Linked DNA regions of Homo sapiens: all the other regions are linked to region 5. Evidence: promoter capture Hi-C in 16 types of primary human blood cells and fetal thymus (Javierre and others, 2016). All regions are on one chromosome and are shown on one strand. Each heading gives the region's core, a stretch centred on a gene start or on the middle of the fragment in contact. The rest is flanking DNA. Distances are from core to core; before and after follow the strand shown. Region 1 overlaps MID2 (midline 2). Region 2 holds the start of MID2 (midline 2). Region 3 overlaps MID2 (midline 2). Region 4 has its middle 21 kb from the start of TEX13B. Region 5 holds the start of FRMPD3-AS1 (FRMPD3 antisense RNA 1).

Region 1 (2,700 bases), core at 65-2,564, 350 kb before region 5:
GAAGCAGATACTGAGCAGTTACCTGTTTGAGGAGTGCTACAAAAGAGGTTTATCACGTAAAAAGGATAATCTTTGGGTGCTTATAAGATGGGGATTTAACCAACAGTTGTCAAGTGGGGAGCTTAGATGGTCAAGGAAGGCTTCCTAAGGATGTGATATTTTTAAGGAATGAATGAGAGTTAGCTAGAGGAAGGGGAGATTCACAGCAGAGAAGACGAAGACAGCAAAAAGGTCTGGGAGACCATGCTAGAGAGGTAGGTAGGGGCCAGATCATAATGGGTTTTAAAGGCAGTGGGGGAACCATTAAAGGGTTTGTGGTAGGGAGTGACATGACAGGTTTTGCATTTTACAAGTTCATTTCCACAGCAATGTGGAAAATGGATAGGAGGGGAACAGGATGGGCCAGAGAGACCAGTTAGAAACTGCAGTTTCCAAAATGATTGTGGCATGGCCATGGCTGCTACCTTCAGGAAGCTTCTAGTCCAACCAAGGAAACAGCCTGTAACCAAGAAATTCCTTCATGGAAGAGCAAGCAGTCTAATAGAGGTTTGCACAGGCTGTTCCACCCAAGTTCATGTGACTAGTGGGTGACAGAGCCAGCAGCAGAACCCAGGTTTCCTGATTTCTAGTCTAGGGCTTTTTCCAAGGCCATCCTTTTCACTGCCTTCACAACCAAGGAATTATGGAAAGGGAGGAGAACAAAGCAAGCCAGTGAATGTTTCCGCCTTCTTAAGTCTCAGATCAGATTGTGGGGAGCATTTAGCCACTCTCTGTACTCAAGTCTGACATAAGCACTCCTCCCAAGACATTTGTTTCTGAGGGATGGATTCACCATCGTGATACTCCCTGTATATATACAGAGCAAGGAATTTCTACTGGGAGGGCCAGGGAAATTTGAACTCTCATAGCTAAGGTCGAAAAGGGCATTGTTATGAGAAAGAGGTCATTCTTTCTGAGACAGGGAACTCTGGATGACAAAAGGGAAAAAATCTGATTCCAGGCAGACAGAAAACAGTCTGATTCCAGCCCAACAGAAGAAGCAAGGGCCCAAGTAGAAGAGTGAAAATAGCTGAAGAAGAGCCTATGTTGCTTCTAAGCTGAGGGAGTAGAGAAATAGGAAGTACCAGGAAAGAGCCTGAAAGACAAGGACCAGAGGAATTCTGTTTGTAAGCATCAGAGGGAAGGGAAGCCTCAGAATAATAACCAACGCTGAACTCTGTGACTGGGCAACAAAGAGGTCTTGAGAACATATTTCCAGAGGTCTCAACTACCTTGTGAGTCAAGAAATAAACAAAGGGGTTTCTACGGGGAAAACCCCAAGGGGGTCAGAGGCCCTGATTAGGATGGGCTGGGCGCAGTGGTTCACACCTGTAATCCCAGCACTTTGGGAGGCTAAGGCGGGCAGATCACTTGAGGTCTGTTTTAGGCTCAGCCTGACCAACATGGTGAAACCCTATCTTTATTAAAAATACAAAAAATAGCCAGGCATGGTGGCGCATGCCTGTAATCTCAGCTACTCGGGAGTCTGAGGCAGGAGAATCACTTGAACCTGAGAGGCGGAGGTTGCAATGAGCTGAGATTGCGCCACTGCATTCCAGCCTGGGTGACAAGGTGAGACTCTTTCTCAAAAAAAAAAAAAAAAAAAGGTATAAAACAAACAGGAGGATGGAGCCAAGATGGCCGAATAGGAACAGCTCCAGTCTACAGCTCCCAGCGTGTGTGACGCAGAAGACGGGTGATTTCTGCATTTCCAACTGAGGTACTGGGTTCATCTCACTGGGGAGTCTCAGAAAGAGGGTGCAGGACAGTGGGTGCAGCGCACCGAGCGTGAGCCGAAGCAGGGTGAGGCATCGCCTCACCCAGGAAGCTCAAGGGGTCAGGGAATTCCCTTTCCTAGTCAAAGAAACGGGTGAGAGACAGCACCTGGAAAACTGGGTCACTCCCACCCTAACACTGTGCTTTTCCAATGGTCTTAGCAAACGGCACACCAGATTATATCCTGCGCCTGGCTCAGAGGGACCTAATCCCACAGAGCCTCGCTAATTGCTAGCACAGCACTCTGAGATCAAACTGCAAGGTGGCAGCAAGGCTGGGGGAGGGGCACCCACCATTGCCGAGGCTTGAGTAGGTAAACAAAGCAGCTGGGAAGCTTGAACTGGGTGGAGCCCACCGCAGCTCAAGGAGGCCTGCCTGCCTCTGTAGACTCCATCTCTGGGGGCAGGGCATAGCCAAACAAAAGGCAGCAGAAAACTCTGCAGACTTAAATGTCCCTGTCTGACAGCTTTGAAGAGAGGAGTGGTTCTCCCAGCACACAGCTGGAGATCTGAGAACAGACAGACTGCCTCTTCAAGTGGATCCCTAACCCCCGAGTAGCCTAACTGGGAGGCACCCCCCAGTAGGGGCAGACTGATACCTCACAAGGCCGGGTACTCCTCTGAGACAAAACTTCCAGAGGAAAGATCAGGCAGCAACATCTGCTGTTCACCAATATCCACTGTTCTGCAGCCTCTGCTGCTGATACCCAGGCAAACAGGGTCTGGAGTGGACCTCCCACAAACTCCAACAGGCCTGCAGCTAAGGGTCCTGACTGTAAGAAGGAAAACTAATAAACAGAAAGGACATCCACACCAAAACCCCATCTGTACGTCACCATCATCAAAGACAAAAGGAAGATAAAACCACAAAGATAGGGAAAAAACA
Region 2 (2,700 bases), core at 174-2,673, 280 kb before region 5:
AAACGGGTAGGGGACCGTGGAAGAGAGAAAGTAAAGAGTACAACGACTGCAGGATTTCAATTTCCTGCTCTAAGAAGAAACACCTCTGAAAAATAATGTGCAACACACGAAGTGCTAAGTAACCTAAACCTTATCATCACCAGTAATGTTTCTGTAAATCTACTCCGCCGTTATTTACTTAATTCTTACAAGGCAGGAATGGAAAATCCCCACTCTCCCTGGTTGCGTCGCAGTCTGTCCTGTGGACATATGTAAGTTTTCCCTCTCCCCCACAGAGCTGATTTCACAGCTAGGCCAGAAATAAGGAACCATCCAGACGGAGACTCGAGGATCGCTCCCTGGCAGAAAAGGGATTAAGTTTCACCGGGCCTCCCCGCCGGCAGGGCGTCCGCAGCCACGCCGGCTGCTGCGACAGCACCGCCCGGCAGACGGCCGGCCAAGGGGCGACGCCTGGGCCGAGGAGGCTGCCGGCTGCGGGAGCGTGGGAAGGCGGCCGTGCCCTTTCCCAGACTCGCGCCCAGGCGCCGGGGGATTCGCTCGACTGCCCGCGCCGGGCCCGGCCAGGCTGCGCAGAGGCCTCGGCCGCCCCCGCCCCGCACCCCGGAGTGCAAACTCCGTCCCAGGAGGGCAGTGGCAGGAACCCGGGCCCCAACAGCATGACTGAGAGCCGGAGCTGAGCTGGGGCCCCCGTCGCCGTTTCGAGCCTCGCGGGCCCCATCACCCTGCCTCGCCGAGCCGGAGAGCCCTCGGCCAACGCCGGGCCCCGGCGGCACCTGAAAAGCGGCCGGAGCCGGAGACTAGCCCTGCGAGGGCTACGACGCTCGACCTCCAGGGCCGCGGCGAGGGGGCGCGTTTTACCCATAGCGTTCCCAGGTGCCAGCCATCTCCTCCGCTCGCTCGAGGGCGCTGGGCTCTCGTCTGCCTCCGCAGCGGGTTGGCTCGGGCTCCGGCGCGAGCTCCCGGGCCCCGGTCGCCGCCGCCGCCGCTACCACTGTAGGCCGCCGCCCGCCTTCGCCGCCGCTGCCGCTACCGTCGCCGACGCCGCGCAGCAGCCGGGATCCGCCAGCCCGCGCGCCCCGCAGGGGACAGCACGGCGGCCGCGATGCTACCGCAGCTGGGCCTCCCGAGCTAAACTTAAGAGTTTTCGCCCCTCAGTCCAGGGGCAGCACCATGACACCACGGCAGCACCACACTGTCATTTCCGCCGCCGCAGAGGAAAAAAAAGGCAATCCCTTCCAAAAGGGAGGCGGAGTGGGGGCAAACGGGGCTGGGGCTGACACCCCAAGGGAGCACTGGGAAGGGCCCAAGAAGAAGGGGTGCTCGGCCACCTTCCCAGGCTCACCTTCCGCCGCCCCCGCCACTCCCAGCTCCCCCAGCCCTTCCTCTGGAGGCACGTTTACATGTCTTCTCCCCTGGCAGGAGTGACCGGAGAAACCTGAGCAAGCAAAGGCAGCCGGTGGGTGGGGCTCGGGTTACTACTGTACCTACCAGCTGATTCCAGCAGCCTTTTCTCCAGCGCCCTGTCATCTTGAAGGAAGACACACCGAGAGGGACCCGGACGGGTGTGCGTGTGTGTGTGTATGGTGTGTATGTGCGTGTGTGTGTGTGTGACAGAGCGACAGAGATAGCTAAATGTGTGTGAAATGCAGAAGGAAGGCTATGGCTAAACTCTTCTCCCACTCCCCAATCCCCCTGTCCCCCAACCCCACAAACCCCCAGGTTAGAACAAGAAAGAGGCCTTTGCAACGGGTAATAAGAAGAGAGAGCCGGGTCCACCGCAGAGATCCTCCCTATGAAGCTGCTCTATGCAAAGTTAACTACAGAGTAAAACAAAAATAGTGGAGGAGATAGAAAAGGGCAGACAATTGAAGGAAACCGAACCTCTCTTTCTTTTTACAAAAAAAGAATGGCTGTGTTTTATTGGCCTCGGGCAGAAGTTGTGGAGGTGGATTAAAACCATCAAAAGAAAAAAAAAAGTAGGATTTTTCTTGTACCTTCAAATTGTTGACCAGTAAAACAAGAGGGTCGTTACCACATGGACAATGAGGCAGATGCTAGCTATCCAGCTATTCCAGGTCCCTAATAAGCTAATTGGTCCATTTGGAATCCAGCATCCTCCCATTGGTCTGGAATCAGCCTGTTTGCTGACCTGTCATTGGCTCAGAGACCACCACCCGACTCAAAAGGTGGATGGGAGAGGGAAAGAGCAGGAAGCCCCATAAGAGACTCTGTTTCTAACTTGGGGCAAAAAGGGAGAAGAAGGGGAAAGAAATGAGAAAATGGGAAGACTCACCCCAGCACACACACACACACGCCTCCCATCATTGTGCATAGGAACAAGTCCAGAAAAATTGAGGTATCTCTTGGTATATCCCTTCAGGGAACCAATAGTAATCAGTCAACACTCCTGTTAAACAATGTGCTAGAGAGCACTGAGGTGGAAACCAAGACAAAAGTCACAACCAGGCTCTCCTGATGAAAGTCTGGCCCCTAAGAGAAGTAAAAGTTAGTGAGTCACACTTAAAGCACAGGCAACAAAAGCAAAAATAGGTAAATGGGACCATAAAACTTTCAAACATCTGCACAGGAAAGGACACAATCAACAGAGTGAAAAAGCAACCTACAAAATGATAGAAAATATTTGCAAACCATATATCGGATAATGTGCTAATATCCAGAATGTATAAAGAACTTCTATAG
Region 3 (2,700 bases), core at 36-2,535, 320 kb before region 5:
GTAAATAGCTGATTTCCTGGCTGTATGTGTACTTCTAAGTAATCATTCCATCAAAAGACACCATTAATAATAGCAATGCATTCACTCTTTTTTGAGGAAATCTATATATTTGCAGTCATTGTGGTATTATATTTGTTATTTATATCCTGTTTTAAATGTGCAAACATTAATTATACTTTTGAGAGTACATCTTTACTGTCAAACTCTTAGTAACTGTTAAGAAACCCTGTGTCTCATGGAGACTACTTTTACCCTGAAACATGGTCATGTACAGCCCTAGAATGAGGACCCATCCCGGCAGTCTCAGCAAGAAAATATGGGTCCCAGCGTAAACTCTATGGCTGAGGACAGTGTTGATACCTGGAGCTGCCCACACTATTTCCACCCCTCATGGCACAAAAATAATCTGAGCAAGTAAATGCCTAATTGTGGGTATTATTGCTTCCTTCTGCCAACTCTAGGCAACTCCCTCTCCTCTGTACCCCATGAAGGGCTGTCAGAATATGGAGAGCTGCTCTGGGCTATTAAAGGTAGGCCAATGGCAGGAGTACATAAGAGGCTTACCACAGATTCAGGAACGCCAGGCCCCCAAACAGACCATATGTTTTTCTAGAGCTAGAGCTATTTAGTGGAGAAAAACAAAGGGTTTTCTGGAGCTGCCTCCTACCTATCTGAGCACAAATGAATCGGTGGCAAGTAAACCAACAACTTCTCCACTAGGCTGCACAATGCAATGGAAAGAACATAGACTTTGGAGTGAGAGAAATGTAGAACTGCATCCCAGCTTACTTATGTGTGACCTTGAGTAAGGCATCTAATATCTCTGGCCTTCAAGTTCCTCACTTGAAAAATGGGAATATTAACCAGCTGTATCACAGGATTGTCATAAACACTAAGTGAGATTAGAAATGATGTCTCTAGCACAGTGCCCAGAACAAATTATTCAAGTAAGATTCTCTTCCTCCCAATCCTTGCTTACCGTACCACAGAGCTGGACTCCTCTAGACAGGCAGAGACAGTAAGGACATCTCAATGGCTGTGTGCCTATCTGCTGTGGTGATAGTTGTTTTGGTTTCAAGTCTGGGTTTTTAAAACATTTGTTTAGTTTTAGTTGGGTTGATGGCAGGAGAGATTAGAGGTAAAAGTGGAACTAGAAACATTTCAAGGTATAGGATAAGCTTGATAGAGCCTTAGCTGAATTATTAAGATTCCATTAACTTTCCAAGAGCACACTGGAAATGGGGAATTTGGGTGGATTGTGAAAATAGTGGAGCAAACAAGAGGAGCCAAAATTAAGCAAGTCTTCTGGTCATTTAGTGAGTGACCTGGAATTTGAACACAGAAATGAGAACTAGAGGAGGGATGGGAAACGGGACTGTAAGATAAGCTTCACTGTGCCAAAGGAAAAGTGCAAAAGTGGGATGAAAGTGCATTCCTATGTGAACTGTTTCGGCTATGAAGACATGACCACACCTGAAAGCTTACCTGCCCTATAGATGTGAGGGAGGAGGGCGAGGAAAACAATATTAATCCTAACTAATTTTATCCTTAAACCCTGTCATGTGTTAATACCCTCCAAGTATTTCAACTGCAACATTTAATGTCTTCAAAAATGTTACTTTACTGACATAAATGAAGAATTGTCACAAAGTATTTTTTAAAAAGGATTGAATGCATTAGGTCTCTGAAAAATTATAAAGCACTTTCTTTTCTAGTATAAAAATAGGCTATGACCACACACTGGATTGCACAGTTAACTTAGGTTTTTCATCTATATTAAATGTCAATCGTTATATTCTTAATAAGATTGAATGTAATACTCTGAATTAGTCACTACAGTAGTATAAATGAATAGATTGACTGGATCACTGAACTTATTTTCCATTTTTCATGGAAACAATTTTCTCCATCTATAATTCCACAGTGGTTTCAAACTAGGTATTTCATTTTCACAAGACACTAGCAGTTCAAATCTTTCTCAGGAGCTCTTAAGTCTGCTCCCCTTGCTCTTCCATCTCTAACAAAAATATTCACAGAACATTTTTGCTAATAAACATTTTAAATCGCAAATACAAAATTATAGAACTCTCTCTTTTTAAAATTACTAGAGATGAAAGCATGTGACCCTCCCTAAAACTTTTCTTTTGGCTTTGCTTAAAGGCAGTAATCAAGAAGAATTTGGGCAGGATAATGGGCAAATTTACTTAAGTATCAACACGAAGAATCTTTTGGATATTCTTGCAGAAGGGCAGTAAATGTTTCCTTACTAAATAAAATTTGTTTAAATTAGTAACTGCAAACTAGCAGCTTATTGAGCACAATAACCCTTTTTAGTCTATCACATCTGCAGAGTTACTGGTGGGCTAGGTGGAGTCACATGGCCAAGGTACCCAATATTTTTGCTGCTGCAATTTCATTACCACTCCCTCTTCCCAAGAAAAGTTTTAGTTGATATATGTAAAATTTGAAATTGGTTATGAGTATTTGGGAATGATTGTTCTCCCCACTCTCAGAGATAGTGATAAAAAGCTTTGGAAGTCCTGAGGTCAGGGCTAGGAATCTCTGGCAAAATGTGTAGTGCCCAAAATTACTACTACTAGTACTACTGCTACTAGCAACTGTTCCTGCTATTACACCTCCTCTTCCTCTTTCTCCTTCTTTCCCTCCTCCTCCTCCTCCTGCTACTATGACTAGTATTAC
Region 4 (2,700 bases), core at 109-2,608, 460 kb before region 5:
TACATCTGGTGGAATTTGGCTGTGAATCCATTTGGTCTGGGGCATTTTTGATTGGTAGGCTTTTTATTCCTGATTCAATTTCAGAACTCTATATTGGTCTGTTCAGAGTTTCCGTTTCTTCCTGATTTAGTCTTGGAAGGTTGTGTGTTTTCAGGAATTTACCCATTTCATCTAGATTTTCTAGTTTGTGTGCATAGAGGTGTTCATAATAACCTCTGAGGATCTTTTGTATTTCTTGGATCAGTTATAATGTCACCTTTGTCATTTATGATTGTGCTTATTTGGATCTTCCCTCTTTTTTCTTTGTCAATGTAGCTAGCATTCTTTCAATCCTGTTTATCCTTTCAAATACACTTTTGGTTTGTTATTTAATGCTTTTTATGAAATTTTGGTCTCAATTTTTCTCAATTTTTCCCTGATTTATTTTATTCTGCTAGATTTTCAGTTAGTTTGTTCTTGTTTTTCTAGTTCCTCTAAGTGTGATGTCACATCATTAATTTGAGATTTTTCTAACTTTTTGAGGTAGGCATTTAGTGCTATGAACTTTCCCCTTAACACTGCTTTTGCTGTCTCCCAGAGATGTTGTCATGTTGTGTTTCTGTTTTTATTTATTTCAAATTTTTTTTAATTTCTGCCTTAATTTAATTGTTTACCCGAAAGCCATTCAGGAGCCAACCGTTTAATTTCCATATGATTGTGTGGTTTTGAGAGATCTTCTTGGTATTGATTTCTATTTGTATTCCACTGTGTTCCAAGTGTATGGCTGGTATGAGTTTAATTTTTTTTTAATTTATTGAAACTTGCTTTACGGCCAAGCATGTGGTCTTTCTTAGAGTATGTTTAGTATGCAGTTGAGAAGAATGTATATTTTGTGCAGTTAGTGGATGGGGTATTCTGTAGATGTCTATTAGATCCAACTGGTCAAGTGTCATTTTGGTTTCAATTCTCAAGTCCAGAATTTCTTTGTTAGTTTTCTGCTTGATGATCTGTCTAATGCTGTCAGTGGGGTATTGAAGTCCCCCGCTATTATTGTGTGACTATTTAAGCTTTTTCATAGATCTAGAAGTACTTGTTTGATGAATCTGGGTGTTGCAATGTTGGTGTGTGCATATATTTAGGATAATTAAGTCTTCTTGTTGAATTGAACCCTTTGACATTATGTAATGCCCTTCTTTGTCTTTTTTTACTGTTGTCGGTTTAAAGTCTCTTTTATCTGATGTAAGAATAGTGACTCCTGCTCTTGCTTGTTTCCCTTTTATGTGATAGACCTTTCTCCAACCCTTTACCTTGAGCCTATGAACATCATTAAGTGTGAGATGAGTCTCTTGAAGACAGAAGATGGACGGATCTTTTTTTAATCCAACTTGCCACTCTGTGCCTTTTAAGTGGGGGCATTTAGATCATTTATATTCAAGGTCAACATTAATATGTGAGGTTTTGAGAAAAGTGTGAAGTTGTTAGCTGGTTTCTTTGTACTTTCAATTGTATGGTTGCTTTATAGGGTCTGTGAGCTATGTACTTAAGTGTGTTTTTTGGCAGGTATCATATTTCATTTACATGTTTAGAACTCACTTAAGGATCCCTTGTATGGCTGGTCTAGTGGTAGCAAATTGCCTTAGCACTTACTTGTCTGGAACATATTTTATTTCTCCTTTGCTTATGAAGCTTAGCATGGCAGGATAGGAAATTCTTGGTTGGAATTTCTTTTCTTTAAGAAGGCTAAACTAGGCCCCCAATCTCTCGTGGCTTGCAAGGTTTCTGTTGAGAAGTCTGCCATTAGCCTGATGGGGTTCCCTTTGTATATGAGCTGACCTTTTACTCTAGCTGCCTTTAAGATTTTTTTCTTTAGTGTTGACCTTGAAAAATCTGGTGACTATATGCTTTGGTGGTGATCACTTTGTATAGTATCTCACAGGTGTTCTCTGAATTCCTTGTATCTGGATGTCTACTTCTCTAGCAAGATTTAAGAATTTTTCTTGAATTATTCTCTCAAATATATTTTCCAGGTTGTTTACTTTTTTCTCCATCTCTCTCAGAAAAGCCAACAATTCATAGTTTTGGCCACTTTACATAGTCCCACATTTTTCATAGACTTTATTTTTTAAATTCTTTTTTCTTTATTTTTGTCTGACTGGGTTAGTTCAAAAAACAGGTCTTCAAGCTCTGAAATTATTTCTTCTGCTTGGTCTAGTTTATTGATAAAGCTTTCAGTTGCATTTTGAAATTCCTTAAGTGAGTTTTTCTATTCCAGAAGCTTTGATTGATTTCTTTTTAAGATGTTTATATCTTTCATTTCCTGGATTGCTTTAGAAATTTCTTTGTGTTGATTTTCAGTCTTGTCTTGGATTCCATTGAGATTTCTTGCAATCCATGCTTTGAATTCTTTGTTGTTTCTGAGTTTCCATTTTGATTAGCCACCATTGCTGGAGAGCTAGTGTGATTCTTTGGTAGTTTCACTACATTCAGGTTTTTCATGGTGTCAGAATTCTTGCAATGGCTTCTTCTCTTCTAGAGACACTAGCACTTTCTAATTTTTTAATTATTTTTTACAGGTAGGATTTTTTGTCTATTTTCCTATGATATTATTATATTTTTTCTTTCCTTTTCCCTTTCTCCGCCTTTCTAGGGTGTGTGACTGGTGGGGAGCGTCTTTTGGCTTTGCTCCTACAGCCCTATGCACTTCTGTAAGCAGGTTTTTAT
Region 5 (2,700 bases), core at 45-2,544:
CTCATCAATGATCACTTCTCTTAAAACTTTTCTTCTAGGATTGACACAGATCCCAACCATCAATTATTCAGACAGCTTGCCCAGTGGGGTCCTGTAGTCCCCTGGGTTTGCCAGCCTTCCTCATGCAGAGATGGAGGAGGGCATAGACTGAGTTTGGGAATGAGAGTCAGGGAAATGGAGATGGAAGACACCTGTGTCCTCTATACCTTCTTCTCACTAATTCTGCCTTAAATAATATAGAAGCGCCTGGCACCCTGCTGATTTCCCTGCTCTGGGCCTGCTATCTTCTCCCAACAACTGTGGCTGTTCCTCAGTACGTAAATGCCAAGGGCCTCCAGACAGCTCTGCCCATCACAGCTATCAAAAGCACACAAGTGCCTGTTAGCTCTAGCTATCCCCTCTGTCCCCACCAGGTTATCACTAACTTCTGCAGATTCCTGAAGGACTCGGCCAGAATGCATGACTGCTTAACACACTTCTTTTCTGCTCTTCACCTGCCTCTTCTCATTTGCACATCTGGAGCCGACAGTTCACTGCATGTAAACCTCCCAAAGCAGTGAGAAACACTGTGGCTGGCCAAGACTCCCCAAATTGGCAGCTGCATGGCATGGGCTGTCAAATATTACCTGTCTTTCGAAACAATACCACCCCGTAGTAGATTTTGTATTGTCTCAATCTGAACCTCTTGTCCCCCTCAACATTGCTGAGAGGTATCTGGTAGCAGGGAACAGGTATTTATTTTGCCTCCCCTCTGGTGCTAAGAACATAGCAGGTGCCTAATAAAAACTTGGTGACTTAATGAGAGTCTGTATCATTTCCTTTAGGCAACTTTACTCACCACTGCATGGCCTTTTCTGGTCAAGATGTGGAGTTGCAAGATCACTTAAATGTGAAGAGAGCTCAATTTCACCAGCCACTCATTCCCTGAGTCTTCAGGAAGCCATTATTTCCTTCCTGTTTCTATCAAGTAGCAAAAGATGTTTATGGAGCACTTGCTTTGAGTGTAAGCTACTGTGTTAGGGATGGAAATTTCTCTAAGCATCAGAAGGATCTTGAGTGAATCAATATATATTCCTTCTCCCCACAATGCCTGGGGCCTCTCTGGATGTCACGTATCCCTCTTCACTCACTACTTTTCCCCCTCCAGCACCTGGACGCTCCCACTCTAACCCATTCGGAAAGCTGTCCACTATAAGAAGCCCCAGAGCGAGAGCTTGACAGCCAGGCAGATTATGGCCAGGGGCTGAGGAGAGGGAGCCAAAGCTACACTTACTGCATCTGTTTCTCCAACTGCCACCTGCTCAGAAAATCGAACCTTCACAGGATTGGACCTCAACTTGGCCTTCTTCGCAGCACTGATGAAAGCAGATTTGGGGGACTGGAAAAAGAACAGAGAGATGGTGAGTTCTCCATATCTAGGGAAAGCCTAACCTTTGTCACGTCAGAGTTAAGATGTCCCAGTACAGGTACACTTTGCATTACTGATCAAGGAGTCAATAAACAAATATTAATTACCTATTAGTTGCAAGGCAATGTGCTAAATGCTTCCCTATGTAATTGGTGTGTTCTGAAACAGCTGGGCATGAATTGAATTTGGGTAGATTGAACCCCATTATTAATACTCTAGGCCTAGGGGAGTTTGCAAAAGTTCTTTAGTAATAACATACATTGAGTTTTTATATATTTGGTTTTCTTACAGTGAGATAGACCTAAAGGGTGTCTTTTTATTATTATTATTATATCTGAATATAAGCATCCCAAATAATTTACAGAAATGATCTTGTTCACCTCACAGACATGTCCTGCCCCTAGGAAGGAGTTGCATAATAAATACTATTTTAGATGTGGGAGAAAGGAGACCTAGCACTCCAAAAGGATTTATCCACAGTTACTACACTATTGGGGAATAGAGATGTGAGAGATTTAACCCAAGTCTTCTGGCTTTCTAGTTTTGGGCTCTGCACCACTTTGTTTATCCAATTCTGTAAGAAATGCCCAAAAAATCAGCCAGGCTTGTATTTATTTATTTATTTTTAGACGGAGTTTCACTCTTGTCGCCTAGGCTGGAGTGCAATGGTGCAATCTCGGCTCACTGCAACCTCCGCTCCCTGGGTTCAAGCGATTCTCCAGCCTTGCCTCCTGAGTAGCTGGGATTACAGTCATGTGCCACCACACCCAGCTAATTTTGTATTTTTAGTAGAGATGGGGTCTCACCATGTTGGCCAGGCTGGTCTTGAACTCCTGACCTTAGGTGATCCACCTGCCTCAGCCTCCCAAAGTACTGGGCTTACAGGCCACCATGCCTGGCTGGCTTTTTAGTTCTTGAAAACTCTCCCACAATTTTATCAGAAGCATGATTAGCAAACACTGGAAACTAAGCCTTTCCTGGGTGCCCCTTGGATTCTAGCTCCCTGCTGAGCTCTGTAAGGCCCAGCAATTAGGAATACAGGAGTCGTGCTGAGGGGCATCCTCATTGTCTTTGGGGGGGCGTTTATTCATTCTTTTGACAAATTTAGCAAGGGCCTACTACATGCCACACACTGTTCTAGGTGATGAGGGATAGAGCAGTGAATAAGACAGACAAAACTCCCTGGCCTCATGGAGCATCCATTCCAGCAGGAATAGACAGACGATAAATATCTTTTAGGTAGCAAAGAAGGACTTTGAGGAAAAATAAGGCAGGGTAAAGGACTACACAAG

The links. Contacts are between HindIII fragments. The CHiCAGO score rates a contact against its expected background, and 5 or more counts as called.
Region 1: a contact is called between a fragment that was not itself captured here and the fragment with the promoter of FRMPD3-AS1 in region 5, in 2 of 17 cell types (M0 macrophages and non-activated CD4 T cells). The highest score is 5.5, in M0 macrophages.
Region 2: a contact is called between the fragment with the promoter of MID2 here and the fragment with the promoter of FRMPD3-AS1 in region 5, in 6 of 17 cell types (M0 macrophages, naive CD8 T cells, monocytes and 3 more). The highest score is 9.5, in M0 macrophages.
Region 3: a contact is called between a fragment that was not itself captured here and the fragment with the promoter of FRMPD3-AS1 in region 5, in 1 of 17 cell types (M1 macrophages). The highest score is 5.2, in M1 macrophages.
Region 4: a contact is called between a fragment that was not itself captured here and the fragment with the promoter of FRMPD3-AS1 in region 5, in 1 of 17 cell types (M2 macrophages). The highest score is 6.0, in M2 macrophages.

What each region holds. Positions count from the first base shown.
Region 1 is chrX:107,890,225-107,892,924 of GRCh38, reverse strand. The region is part of intron 3 of MID2 (midline 2); the gene reads right to left. Among named protein-coding and RNA genes, the nearest start is that of MID2, 66 kb to the right of the region's middle. The HindIII fragment of the contact is 1,675 bases long and covers 477-2,151 here.
Region 2 is chrX:107,824,589-107,827,288 of GRCh38, reverse strand. It overlaps MID2 (midline 2), which reads right to left and starts at 1,423. Exons shown (of 10, transcript NM_012216.4): 1 at 859-1,423. The coding sequence starts at 862. RefSeq lists silencers at 606-655, 816-1,005. The HindIII fragment of the contact is 8,930 bases long and covers 1-2,700 here.
Region 3 is chrX:107,862,133-107,864,832 of GRCh38, reverse strand. All of the region lies in intron 3 of MID2 (midline 2), which reads right to left. Among named protein-coding and RNA genes, the nearest start is that of MID2, 38 kb to the right of the region's middle. The HindIII fragment of the contact is 209 bases long and covers 1,181-1,389 here.
Region 4 is chrX:108,001,671-108,004,370 of GRCh38, reverse strand. No RefSeq gene overlaps it. Among named protein-coding and RNA genes, the nearest start is that of TEX13B, 21 kb to the right of the region's middle. The HindIII fragment of the contact is 619 bases long and covers 1,049-1,667 here.
Region 5 is chrX:107,544,415-107,547,114 of GRCh38, reverse strand. It overlaps FRMPD3-AS1 (FRMPD3 antisense RNA 1), which reads left to right and starts at 1,294. Exons shown (of 2, transcript NR_046750.1): 1 at 1,294-1,400. It overlaps FRMPD3 (FERM and PDZ domain containing 3), which reads right to left. Exons shown (of 15, transcript NM_001388459.1): 5 at 1,274-1,378. The HindIII fragment of the contact is 5,600 bases long and covers 1-2,700 here.